Regions from separate parts of the Homo sapiens genome. Here region 1 is linked to region 2. The links are contacts of gene promoters, found by promoter capture Hi-C in blood cells and fetal thymus (Javierre and others, 2016). All regions are on one chromosome and are shown on one strand. The core of a region is centred on a gene start or on the middle of the fragment in contact, and the rest is flanking DNA. Distances in the headings are between cores, read along the strand shown. Region 1 has its middle 21 kb from the start of VPS37D. Region 2 holds the start of STX1A (syntaxin 1A).

Evidence for each region. The method cuts DNA at HindIII sites, captures the fragments that hold promoters and counts their contacts. A CHiCAGO score of 5 or more calls a contact.
Region 1: a contact is called between a fragment that was not itself captured here and the fragment with the promoter of STX1A in region 2, in 5 of 17 cell types (total CD8 T cells, erythroblasts, total CD4 T cells and 2 more). The highest score is 6.2, in total CD8 T cells.

The regions. Positions count from the first base shown.
Region 1 is chr7:73,643,613-73,650,197 of GRCh38, forward strand. It overlaps a transcript of MLXIPL not described here. Among named protein-coding and RNA genes, the nearest start is that of VPS37D, 21 kb to the right of the region's middle. RefSeq lists silencers at 4,459-4,528, 4,569-4,618. The HindIII fragment of the contact is 1,888 bases long and covers 435-2,322 here.
Region 2 is chr7:73,715,605-73,721,756 of GRCh38, forward strand. It overlaps STX1A (syntaxin 1A), which reads right to left and starts at 4,065. Exons shown (of 10, transcript NM_004603.4): 1 at 3,998-4,065. The coding sequence starts at 4,027. RefSeq lists an enhancer at 1-374 and silencers at 3,461-3,540, 3,651-3,710, 3,721-3,920, 3,981-4,180. The HindIII fragment of the contact is 14,118 bases long and covers 1-6,152 here.

The DNA of each region.
Region 1 (6,585 bases), core at 129-2,628, 75 kb before region 2:
GCCCAAGTATGTCTTTCTGCTGGGCTGCTTGGTGGAACTGAAGGATGACCCGTCCCTTAGGCCTCCTTGCAAACATCATGTGTCAGGTAAATCCACCCAAGACTGAGCTAATCAGCAGGTACTAGGACAGAGGGGACAGCTGGCACATAGTAGACACTTTATTTTATTTTTTGGAGGCAAGGTGTTGCTCTTTTGCTTAGACTTCAGTGCAGCGGCACCACCATGGCTCACTGCAACTTTGAACTCCTGGCTCAAGTGATCCTCCCGCCTCAGCCTCCCAAGTAGCTGGGACTACAGGTGTGCATCACCACCCCTGGCTAATTTTTAAAAATTTTTATATAGATGGGGGGTCTCACTATGTTGCCCAGGCTGGTCTCAAAGTCCTGGGCTCAAGCAATCCTTCTGCCTCAGCCTCCTGAGTGGCTGGGACTATAAGCTTGTGCCACCATGCTTGGCTAATTTTTTTGTAGAGACAGGGTCTCACTAGGCTGCCCAGACTGGTCCCAAACTTCTGGTCTCAAGCAATCCTCCTGCCTTGGCCTCCCAAAGCTCTGATATTACAGATGTGAGCCACTGCACCTGGCTGAGGACTGGTTTTGTCTTTTTTTTTTTTGAAGCTGAGTTTAGCTCTTTCTCCCAGGCTGGAGTGAAGTGGCTTGATCTCGGCTCACTGCAACCTCCACCCCCAGGCTTCAAGTGATTCTCCTGCCTTAGGACCTCCCAAGTAGCTGGGATTACAGGTGCCCGCCAACATGCCCGGCTAATTTTTGTATTTTTAGTAGAGACAGGGTTTTGCCATGTTGGCCAGGCTGGTCTTGAACTCCTGACCTCAGACGATCCACCCGTCTCAGCCTCCCAAAGTGTTAAAATTGCAGACACGAGCCACTGTGCCTTGCCGGTTTTCTCATCTTTAAAATGGCTATGACTATGTGATGTTATTGTGCAGTTGTTGCAAAGATGAAATGAAATATGTAAGTGAGAGCCAGTGGTACCTGGTAAATGTGGGTTTTCTTCTTCTGTCCCTCTTTTCCTCCCCCCAGCCCGCCCTTTCTTCTTTCCTTCCTTCCTGGTCGACATCTCTGATTACAATGTCAGAGAACCAGGAGCTGTAGGACAAAGAAGATAGGGCGACAATCTCCTCCAGGGGACTCAGGGATGGAAAACGCTTCTCAGACTGTTGCAGCAGGTGACAGTCATCTGCTCTGCCCAGAATCTCCTGGCCTCTCCCCTGCTGGATAACTGGCCCCATGCCGGCCCCATCAGGGCATCAGGCCCCTGGACTGAGATAGAAAGTGGATCCCAGGAAGCATATCTCTCGCCCAAAGTCACACTGCTAATGGGGCTGAATATGGGACAAGAACTTTTGTGACTACCCAAGCCAGCTAGCAGGGGGTGGCCTGGGATTCTGGGTAGAGCATTTTTTTTTTTTTAAGAGAGGGGTTCTTGCTCTGTTGCCCAGGCTGGAATGCAGTGGTGACATCATAGCTCACTGCAGCCTCAAACTCCTGGTCTCAAGTGATCGTCCTGTGTCAGCCTCCTGAGTAGCTATGACTATATGCCTGTGCCACCACACCTGGCTAATTTTTTAATTTGTTGCAGAGACACAGATCTTTCTATGCTGTCCAGGCTGGTCTTGAACTCCTGGCCTCAAGCAACCCTCCCACTTTGGCCTCCCAAAGTGTTGAGATTACAGGCTTGAGCCACTGCCTCTGGCCCTAGGGCAGTAGTTGTCTGTCTCTTATTTATCAGTGCCAGGACCTACCCTGGGAATATTCTGTTCACTCTTCCCTTGTTGGGGGCCCCCTTCTCCAAGGTCAGCTTAGCTAACTTCAAAGAGGAGAGACAGAGCCACCTTGCCCCTAAGTTTCAGGAGTGAGAAAGATGGGTGGGGAGGGGGTGGAGGTGGGTGAGGTGGGCGCAGGACACATGGACACCCATGAGCTGACCTGGGAGGTTGGGGGTCAGCCAATGTAATCCCCTCTTGTGTGTTTCTCCCTGAATGCAGAGAATGCACCACCCATGTTGCTTCCAGACCTCCTCCCAGCTCTGCTCAACAGTCCAGGCGAGCCCATTTAACCCCAGGTTACAGGTGTGCAGAGTGAAGCCCGGAGGAGGACAGGGCTTGCCAAGGTCACTGACAGTAGTGGGAACAGAAACCAGGGCTTTGGAGCCAAGATGCTTGGGTTTGAATATCAGCTTTGCCGTTCCCAGGCTGTGTGACCTTGAGCCAGAGCCTTGACCTCTCTGAGCCTGTTTCCTCATCTGTAAAATGGAGATCTTTTCCTTCTCTGGTTATCAGGAAGAAGGAAACAGTGCCAGAAAAGCTTGTGCAGTGCCTGGCTTGCAGTAAATGCATAGCAAACCCCAGTTCCTCTTCCTCTTCTCCTATCTGAACAGCAATCCTAAGCCTGCACGTCCCCTCTCTCTTCCCTCCTCTGCCCCACATCTGTAGCCAAAACTTTTTCTTTGGCCCTAACCAGAGAGTGAGGACTGCACTAATGATGGCCTCTCCCAGCCCCTGACAAACCCAACACATGTCTAAGCTTGCATTTAGCCACCACAGGGCTGGCAGCAGGGCCAAAGACAGCCCCGGGGAGGGTACCCAGGGAGGGCCATTGCCTGAAGGCACTAGAGACTCTGGGCAAGTGTGGCTGCAGGAGCCTCGGAGACATGACCTCTCCCACTTCCACGCTTCCAGTCCACTCTTCCATCCCACTCTACAGCCTGCAGAAGCTCATATGCCAGCCCTCCACTTCAGCTGACAAACATCATCTCCACCAGTGCCACCCCTATATCGGCCAGAGGATTTCAATCACAGGATTCCAAGACACCAGGCGGATGCTTCCTGGACCCTGGCTCTGAGCTGCCCTCCCATGTGGTCCCCAGGCTGAGTCCCAACCCCAGCCTGAGCCCCAACCCTGATTCTAAACTGAGCCCTGGCCTGGCTCAGCCAGCAGACTGTGTCCTTAGGGGGCAATTAGGGAGAAGTGAGATGGGTCATCTTCTCAAGATGGGGAAACTCCTGGCTACTACAGCTCAGACCTCTTCTGGTATTACAGAATCTTCCTCCTCTCCCAGAAGCTACCCTAGGCTGAGGAGCTGAGCTTCCCTGGGGCGGACCTGAGATTCCCAGACCTGTATTCTGAGACTTCTCCTGCATCTGAGGGCCTGGGCAGGACATGGGGCAGGGGAGTTGCTGAGTGTAAGATAAGTTCTTGGGCAAAGTGGGGACCAGCTCAGCTCTCATAGATCCCTGGTCCCCCTGACTTCCTGACTCAGCTGACCCTGTAACACCATCCCCCTTGTGAAGGCCCAGAGGGACTTGGTTGGAGTGGGCCACACTGTCCCCCAAAGCAACCTGGTGTTCCGTTTTACTCTGTCCCCATCTCCACACGAGTGGCCCAGGAACAGTAAACCTTCCCATGTCACGGAGGGAGAGCCAGGCCCAGAGACGGAAAGTCGTGCGCCCAAGGTCACACAGTCAGACACAGACAAGAACCCAAAGCTCCCAAACCCAGCCCAGAGGTGGGGGCAGGGTGGCTGGGAGGAAGCCCTGGCTTTCCCCCCTGGGCAGAGCAGCAGGAGTGCCGGCCACCACTTCTGTGGCCCCCACCTGTTGGCTAGAAGCCTAGGGGCCAGAATCCACATACCCCACCCTGCCATCTCCCTTCTTTCTGTCCCAGCCAGGGGCAGTTTTGGTCCTCCTCATCCCAGGGCCCACCTGGACAGGGTTTCTCCACTGGCATGTCACCTGCCCAGGGCAGGGAGAGCCAGAGGGAGGAAGGCCCTCCCTCCTGACTCCCTGGGCCCCCTCTCAGCTCCTGGGAGAACCTCCCAGACCAGGATGGAAGCCCAGCCCAGTCCAGCCAGTGGGAGACACGGGGCTTCCAGGACCCGTGTGCACTTCACCTTCTAGCAGGATGAATTCTTGGATTCCTGATCCGGAGTCCTCCCTGGGGTACGAGTTTGCCTCCTTCCTCCTGGCAGCTGAGGCTGAGCGAGGAGGCCACATAAGCCTATGAACCCCTTCAACCCAGCTGAGCCAGAGACGCGCGCCTCTATGGGCAGAGGGGAAACTGAGGCCCAGCACAGAGGCGGATCCAATTCCCCTTGGGTGAGGCCCCTGCACCCACCTGATGACGCGGGGGCTCCACGCCCTCACCTGGAATCCGCTCGACCTGCAGAGGGGCGCGGCGCGGCCAGGGGCGGGCGGCGGGCGGCGGGGGCGCTGCGGGGATGCTTGGGACCGCCGGACCGCGCCCGGCGCCTTCTCCGCGCGGGCGGCAGAGGGCTCCGTGCGCTGCGCCGCGGGCCCGGCTTTTAGCAGCGGGTGTGGACGCGGGCACCCCCGCCCCGCTCCGAGGTGTCCTTTGCCCCTTGATCTGGTGCCTCCTTCTCTCCTTAGCACGTGGGCGGCAGCCGCTCAGCCGCTCAGAGGCCTGTGGGGCAGCCATGGCCCGGGCCCTGGGCTCGGGCGCCTGCCAATCCCCGTCTGCCGCCGGCTCGTGCCCGCTCACCTTTAACCCCCTCTACTTTCCCCGGGGGCTCGGTGCCCGGCCCCCAGCCGCGGGCTGGGCTCGGGGAGGGAGGAGCCGCAGGTGTGGGGCCACCCCAGGTGGGCAGAGAAAGACGCTGGGACCGCCTCGGGCTCCTCCCAGAGCCCCAGCCCGGCTTTGAACCTCCTCCTAGTCCCTGAGTCCCCCCAGCACTCTCTCTCACTCTCATCCCTCACTCTTACTCTCTTCTCTCCCCGCTTTCTCTCTTTCTCTCTCTCCCCCTCCCTTTCCTCTCCCTCTCTCTTCTCTCCTCCAGGCTCCTCTCTCCCTCTCCCCTCACTTTCTCTCTACCCCCTCTTCTCTCTCCCCCTTCTCTCATCTCTCTCATTCTCCCCCTTCCTCTCTTTCCCTCTCTCTCTCCTCTCTCTCTGTCTCTCACTCTGTCTCTCTCCTCTATCTCTCTCACTTTCTCTTTCTCTCTCTATTCCCCTCCTTTTTCACTCTCCCCCCTCTCTCCTCTCTCTCTCTCATTCTCCCCCTCCTCTTTCTTTCTCTCTCTCTCTCACACTGTCTCTCTGTCCCTTGTCTCTCCCTGCCCCGTCTCTCTCCCTCTGTCTTCTCTCTTTCCCTCTGACCCTGGCTCTCCTCTCTCTCTCCCACCCTCCTCTCTCTCTCCTTTACTTTCTCTCTATCCCCTCCTCTCTCTCTCCTTTCTCTTCTCTTTTTCTCTCTCCCTCTCTCCCCCCTCTCTCTCTCATTCTCCTCCCTCTCTTTCCATCTCTCTCCTCTCTCTGTCTCTCACTCTGTCTCTCTCCCTCTCTCTCCTCTCTCTCTCACTTTCTGACTTTCTCTCTCTCCCCCCTCCTCTCTTTCTCCCCCCTCTCTCTTTCTCTCTCATTCTCCCCCCTTTCCCTCTCTCTCCTCTCTCTCTCACTCTGTCTCTCTCCCTCTCTCTCTCCTCTCTCTCTCTCACTTTCTCTCTGTCTCTACCCCCTCCTCTTTCTCTCTCTCCCTCTCTCTCCTCTCTCTCTCTCTCATTCTCCCCCCTTGCCTTTCTCTCTTTCCCTCTCTCACTCCCTCTCCCCCTTCTCTCTCCCTTTCTCTTCTCTCTTTCCTTCTCTCTGTCTCTCACTCTGTCTCTCCCCCTCCTTTCCCCCCCTCTCTCTTCCTCTCCTCTCCCTCTCTGTCTCTCCCTCTGTCTCTGTCTCTCTCTCTCTCTCACTGTCTATCTCCTGTCTCTCTCTCATCTGGCTCACTGAGCCCCATTCATTCCCTCTTTGACCAGCTTCATCCCATGCTCCCTCTGAGTCCCCCCTCAAGCCCCCACCCTCCCTGCCCTTGACATCACATCCCCTCCCTAAACCCCACTCCCCTCCCTGAGCCCCCATTCCTCACCCCTCCCTGAGGCCCTTCCTGCCTTCCGGGGCCCACTGACTTCCCCTCTCTTGCTCTTAGTGCTGTGTCCTCTCAACTCTTTTTTTTTAAGCAATGGGTTCTCACTATGTTGCCCACGTTGGTCTCTATCTCCTGGTCTTAAGCAATCCTCCCACCTCGACCTCCCAAAGTGCTGGGATTACAGGTGCAAGCCACTGGGCCTGGCCCAGACTCTTACATTTACTCCACAAACATCCTTAAACACCCTTGGCGTAGCAGCCCAGTGAGAGAGCGGGATAGGCCAGCGGTGGTATCAGTTTCAAAGTCCAGGATGGATGCCTCCAAGTCCTCAGAGGTCCTGTGGAGTAGGCACCACCTGGGAAGGGGGCATTCAGGACCTCAGCTTGCCTGCCAGCTTCAAGGGGCCGTGTGGGGTAGAAGGAAGGATCCCCCTGGCCACCGCTCGGCCAGGAGCGGGCAGTGTGGGATGGAAAGAAGAAAGGGCTTTCACAGCCACCCTACCCAGCAATGAGGCAGCTTCCTCCCAGCCCCACGGGCTTCCTTCCTTCTACGGCTAGCGGGGGGCAGCAGAGGCAGAAGGGATCCTGCCAATAATGCCCCTCAGAGTCCCCTGGTGATGGCAGGAGGTAGAGCGCAGGGGGAAGGCCGGGGGCATGCCGGAGGATGAGGCTGAGCCCGAGCCCAGAAGAGACCC
Region 2 (6,152 bases), core at 2,815-5,314:
AGACTCCAGGATTCCAGGACACCTTCCTGGATGTAATAGTCTGACTCCTCCAAGAGGCGCAGAGGCCAGGCAGCCTCCAGGCGTGTCCCAGGGGAAGCCACCAGGCTGGCAAGGTTGATTCATCACTGCTGAGCACAGTGGCTGTTGTCTGCCTCGAGGGCTATTTTTTTCCCTTCTTCTTTTAAATGACTAATCAAAGTCAATATCACTAGTGCAGAGAGGCCCGGAGCTGAGTCAGGGGTGTGCGAGAGGCCAAGCTGGGTCTCCAGGAAAGACGGCTGTGCAATCTGAGCCTCCTCACCCTGTCTCCAGCCTCCAGCTGTGTGTACACCAGGTCCCCGCCCTGCAGAGCCTGCCCCTTCACAGGGCCCCAGAGTGGCTCAGGGAGGCAGCTTCAGGCCGTGGAAGGGGCCAGGCTCTGCCCCCACAGGCTGCATGACCTCAGATAAACACCTGGCCCTTTCTGGACCTGTTTTCTGATCTGTAAGATAGGAGGTTGAACTAGATGGTCCCGGGAGGCCGTTCCACCTGCACCCCAGATGAAAATGTACCCAAATGCATCGTTCATGCTGGGAAACCTCTGGAACGTAATGGGAGGAAGGATCGGGCGAGCCCTGTCCGGCTCCTGTTCTTACACTCTCGTGCCTGCCACTCTGCAAAGTAGGTAACACTGGCTCCATTCTGCAGATGAGGAAATGAGCAGAGGGAGATTAAGGATGAACCTGCCCGGTGTTGCCACCCAACCGCCAGACTCTTCCCAGCAACGAAAGAGAAGGGGAAACTGATGGGCAAAGCAGGGCCCTGGGCCTTCCCATCCAGGCCTGCCTGGGCTGCTCCAGTGAGTTGGGCCCTAGTCTAGACCTCAAGGCACTTCAGGGGGCCCCAGACACCAGCTGTCAGGACCACCTGCTATTCTCTCCTGGTTGAGCATTCCAATCTCTCTGCCTTCACTAAGCTGTCCCCTCCTTTGGATCACCTTCTCTCCTCCTATTCAAATCCAGCTCCTGCTCCTGTGCTATCCCAGGGTCTCTTCTTCCAGGAAGCCTTCCAGGATTGTGCTGCTCCAACTCTCCCTCCTTGCTACGTCTTCAGCCTCCTGCAACAGGTCCCATGTGTCTGTCCCACATGACCTGGCACATAGACAAATACATGTTCTGGGCCCAGGGAGAAAGGTCAGCTCTGCAAAGTCCCCAGGAAGAAAATCAGGGAGTCTCTGAGTTGAGGGGAGGAGGCAGCTACAGCCTGAGTGGGGCTCCTGGGGATGCTCTAACCTAAAAGTCTTTCCCTGGCTGTGTGACCCTGGCCCTGTCTTCGGTCTCTCTTTGTTACCTGTAACCTGCAAGTGGCCTTTCTGATCTCTGAGGGACTGCGACAGCATTGAGGCCCCCTGGCTAGTCCCCAGTGACCCCCTTCACTCCCCATCTGCAGAGGGAGAGTTGGGAGCTGGAGAAGGCTGGAGAAGGCTGGAGGGCTGGGCCGGGCCTGCAGAGTGAGGAAACGCGCCAGCTCCTTCCCCAAGTGTGACTTTTATAAATAAGCTCTCTTCGCCTCCTTCCAAATGTGGTGGTGTTGGGTGGGGGAGAAGGAGAAAGAAGAGGGAGGAGGAGGAGGAAGAGGGAGGGAGGGAGGGCTGGGAGCGGTGCACAGCCGCTGTCCCCAGCACCATCTCTGTTCAGCCCAGCCCAGCCCAGCCCGCCCCAGTCCAGCCCAGTCCAGCCCAGTCCAGCTCAGCCAGTGCTGGCCTCTTCCTTTCTGGGGATTCTGGGCTGAAAATTCTGACTCCTGGGGCTTCAGGCCTCCTACAAATGTGGAGCTGGAGTCAGGAGACCTGTAGCCCTGCTTCTCGTCCCGAGAAACTGAATTCTAGGCTTTCCCATCCCCACTTCACAGATGGGAACCCTAGGTCCAGAGGGAAAGCAGCCTGTGGGAACAGTGGCCCCACCAAGACTGACTGTCTCACCCCACCCCGGGTGGGCTCCTGCCTGCCAGCCGTCCACCTGTCTGCTAGAAAGCCCTCCCTGGGCAGGGCCACCCAGCAATGGGTACAGCCTCCCTGGGCTCTGAATGCCTTGTGTGGGGAGGGTGGGGGTGTCTGGAGCGGAAGCCTCAGACCATTCAAAGCAAAGCCTGGCTTCACCATCTAATCAGGGGGCGAGGAGGTAGTAACAGAGACAGACATCAGAGCAAAAAGATCTGGGTTCAAACGCTTCACAACCCCAGCTCCACTGGCTGTCCCCCAGTGTCAGCCAGGCCTGAGTCTGACTATCTTCAGGGATGAGGCAAAGCCCTTTTCTACCACCCCTCCCTCTAGCAGGCAAGCCGTGTTTCTTTTGTGCCTCAGTTTCCCCTTCAGCTAGGGGGATGAAGGCTGACATGCCAGAGGCTATTATCCTATGTAGGGGCCCATGGTTCCCCTGACCACTTGGTTCCCACACACACCCTCAGGTAACCTACCAGGCGCCTAAACATCAGCACATTACACCACACAGCCATCCGTCACCAGGAAAACACTCATTCTGACTCAACGGAGCTCAGGAAACTTGAGGGCAACCACAGGGGCCGCGGGGGAAGTGTTTAGAGCCCATATGCGACTTGAGGGACCATCTTCTTCCTTTGAAACCTCATGGGGTTTACACCAGGGGCTGGGCGCTCGGCCAGGAATAACAGGTCTGGAGGCAAAGTGGAGGCCGTGGTGCCAGAGCAAGTGGGGGACATGAAGGCAGGGGAGCCCAGGTCCCGGCTCCAGGATGCCCAGGAGGCAACCATGACATAATGGGGCAGACAGGCTCCAACTCAGGGAGCCTCTGGGTGGAGAAGACAAGCCGTGGGGTCAAATGCCCAAAGGACACTTGACATTTTCCATAGGAGGGGACCTTAGGGTTCTAGTTCCTAGCCCAGGGAGCGGGGTGGGGGGTGCTCCCAGGGATCAGCAGGCAGGGCTGCCAGCCAGGTGGCCAGCCAGGGGACCAGATGACCAGATGAGACTCAATCTAGTCTTGAGCCTTGATCCACCCCCCCTCCCCGACACACCCAGAGAGGCTTCATTTCCGTCGCTGTCCTCCACTCCCGGTCACCATCCTCCTGGGCTCCTCATCCCTAAGGGCAGAGGCCAGGGGAAGGGGACCCACGCAGGCTGCAGGGGTCTCTGGGCTGGGAGAAGGTGGGCTCTGACTCAGAACGTTTGTGCATCCTCCTACTCCCCCCAAACCCCGCCCCAGGAGCCACACCCCAGGGGTTTCCCAGATACAGGTAGAAAAATAGATCCAAGTCGCAAGGAACCCTGAAGGGTCTGGAAACGCCAGCCAGTGCTGCCCGAAAGCCCGAAGGTGGATAGGTGGACCGGGGGCGGGTGTGACGCCCCCCCCCCCATACCTGGGGCGGGCAGTGGATCCCTACTGCGACCAAGCAGAGGGGGAGCCACAGGTGATGGGAGCCACAGGTGACCAGGGTGGCCCGAGGAGGCCGCCACCACCCGACGATCAGGTTTCCGCAGCGCGCCCCGCAGCGGGGCCCCGCGCAGGGGACCGGCACCGGCCCACCGCGGTCCCCTCGTCTGTCTACACCAAGGAGGTTCCCACCGCGGTCCCCTCGTCTGTCTACACCGAGGGGGCACGGGAGGTCAGAGATGAGGGGCAGTGAGGGGGCCAGAGAAAGGGCCTGCTCTGCGGGAGGGGGAAGAGGTCCCGCCACCAAAACCCCATCATACCCTCCGAACCCCCCAAATCAAGAGGGCCCCGAAAAGTTTATCCAGGACCCCGGACTCCAGCCGACCGTCCACGTGTCAGCGCGGCCGAGCTCACGCGAGCCTGACCCCGAGTGGGTCCGAGGGGCGGAACCCGGAGGGGGGTCGAGGTCCCTGGCTCGCCCCGCTCCCTTCAGCCCTGGCTGGGGGCGCAGGAGCGGCCACCATCCTGGCCGCGGGAGCCGGGCGGGAAGTGTCCGGCGCGTTGGCGCTGGCGGCGGGCGGCGGGCGGCCGCGCGCTGGGGCCGGACTCACCGTGCGGAGCTCCTGGGTTCGGTCCTTCATGCTCCCGGGAGTGGCAGCGGCGCCGGCTGCAGCCGTGTGAGCCCCGCATGCGCGACGGCCGCCCCGCGGCTGCGCAGCGCCAGCCCGGCCCCGCCCCGGCCCCCGGGACCCCGGCCCCGCCCCACCCCGCCCGGGCCCCGCCCAGACCCCGCCCAGACCCCGCCCCACCCCGCACGAGCAGCCCCGTGGGGATCGAAGCCCTGGGGTCTCGTCCTGGACGTTCCGCACGCGTGATCGCTCCCGGGGATGGGTCCCCAGAGACCCTGCTGCCTCCTCTGCCCCAGCCCTGTCTCGTTTTTTATTTATTATTTTTGGAGACAGGGTCTCGCTCTGTCGCCCAGGCTGGAGTGCTGTGGTGCAATCATAGCTCACTGCAGCCTTGAGCTCCTGAGCTCAGGCAATCCTCCCGCCTCAGTCTCCTGGGTGGCTGGGACTAGAGTTGCTCGCCACTACTCCTGAATAATTTTCAAATATTTTGTAGAGACAGGGTCTTGCTATGTTACTCAGGCTGGTCTTGAACTCCTGTCCTCAAGCGATCCTCCCTCCTCCCAAAGCTCTGCGATTACAGGCGTGAGCCACCGTGCCTGGCTTCCAGCCTCTTCCCGACTTAGCAGCTCAGCATCCCTGTCCCAGAATCCGGTCCTCATCCTCAGATCCCTTCACTTCCCCAGAATTTGCTGAAGGTTGTAACTCCCTCCTTCATTTCATTACCTTGGGACCTCCTGCTCTCCCTTCTGTTCCCCAGCCAAAAACCTCCTGGAGAGTTCCAGTCTGGGAGCCTCCACCCTTCCCCCTTGCTCCCATCATCCAGTAGGGACTCAGGCACTGGCCTCTTCTTTCCCTAGGATTTCTCAGTTCACAGCTCTGATGCTGCGTGACCCACCCCTTTTTCCTGCAGGATGAAGGAACTCCTCTATCTTTTTATGTTTGTTTGTTTGTTTGATTATTTATTTATGAGATGGAGTTTCACTCTTGTCGCCCAGGCTGGAGTGCAGTGGCGCTATCTCAGCTCTGCCTCCTGGGTTCAAGCGAGTCTCCTGCCTCATCCTCCCAAGTAGCTGGGATTACAGGTGCCCACCACCACGCCCGGCTAATTTTTTGTATTTTTTAGTAGAGACAGGGTTTCACCATGTTGAGCAGGCTGGTCTCAAACTCTTGACCTCTTGATTCTCCCGCCTCGGCCTCCCAAAGTGCTGGGCTTATAGGCGTGAGCCACCGTGCCCGGCCTATTTTTTTTTTTTTTTTTTGAGACGGAGTCTCACTCTGTTGCCCAGTCTGGAGTGCAGTAGCACGATCTTGGCTCACTGCAACCTCCACCTCCCGAGTTCAAGCAATTCTCCTGCCTCAGCCTCCCAAGTAGCTTGAGATTACAGGCACCCACAACCACGCCTGGCTAATTTTTTTGTATTTTTAGTAGAGAAGGGGTTTCACCATGTTGTCCAGGCTGGTTTCGAACTCCTGACCTCAAGTGATCTGCCTGCCTCAGCCTCCCAAAGTGCTGGGATTACAGGTGTGAGCCACTGCACCCAGCCAGGAACTACTCTATCTTTGGGAAAGAGATTTGAGTTATGGCCCCCCTCTCCTCCTTTCCCTGCATCCCCAATCCTGAACTCTGGCTCTAGGCCTGAGGTTCTATTTTCTCTTTTTTCGTTTTTGTAAAGACGGGGTCTCCTCATGTTGCCCAGGCTGGTCTCAAAGTCCTAGCCTCAAGCGATCCTCCTGGCTTGGGCTTCCAAAGCACTGGGATTACACTTGGCCAATGTAGGTTCTATTTTCTATCTAGAAGCCTGGGGCCTGGCTTCCTCTAGGACTCATGGGAAAACCTGTGGAGGAGTGGGAGTGGGGAGGCCAGTCAACAGCAGATGTTCTTTTGAAGGTCCCTGCCAGCATCTTGTTGCAACAGTGGTCTCGCACACACCCCCATAAGCCCGCTGTGCCCTCCACCACCCCCAGCTGTCACTTCTGTGGCCCACACCCTCTTGACCTGAAGCCAAGCACATCCCTTCCCTTCCCCAGGACTGCCAAAGCATTGGAGCTCTGGAGCCAATCCAGCCCCCTGCTGCCCAGTGTGTCTGGGCCTGGCACCTCTCCCAGACTATGGGCACAGGTTAGCTGGCTGCCAGGC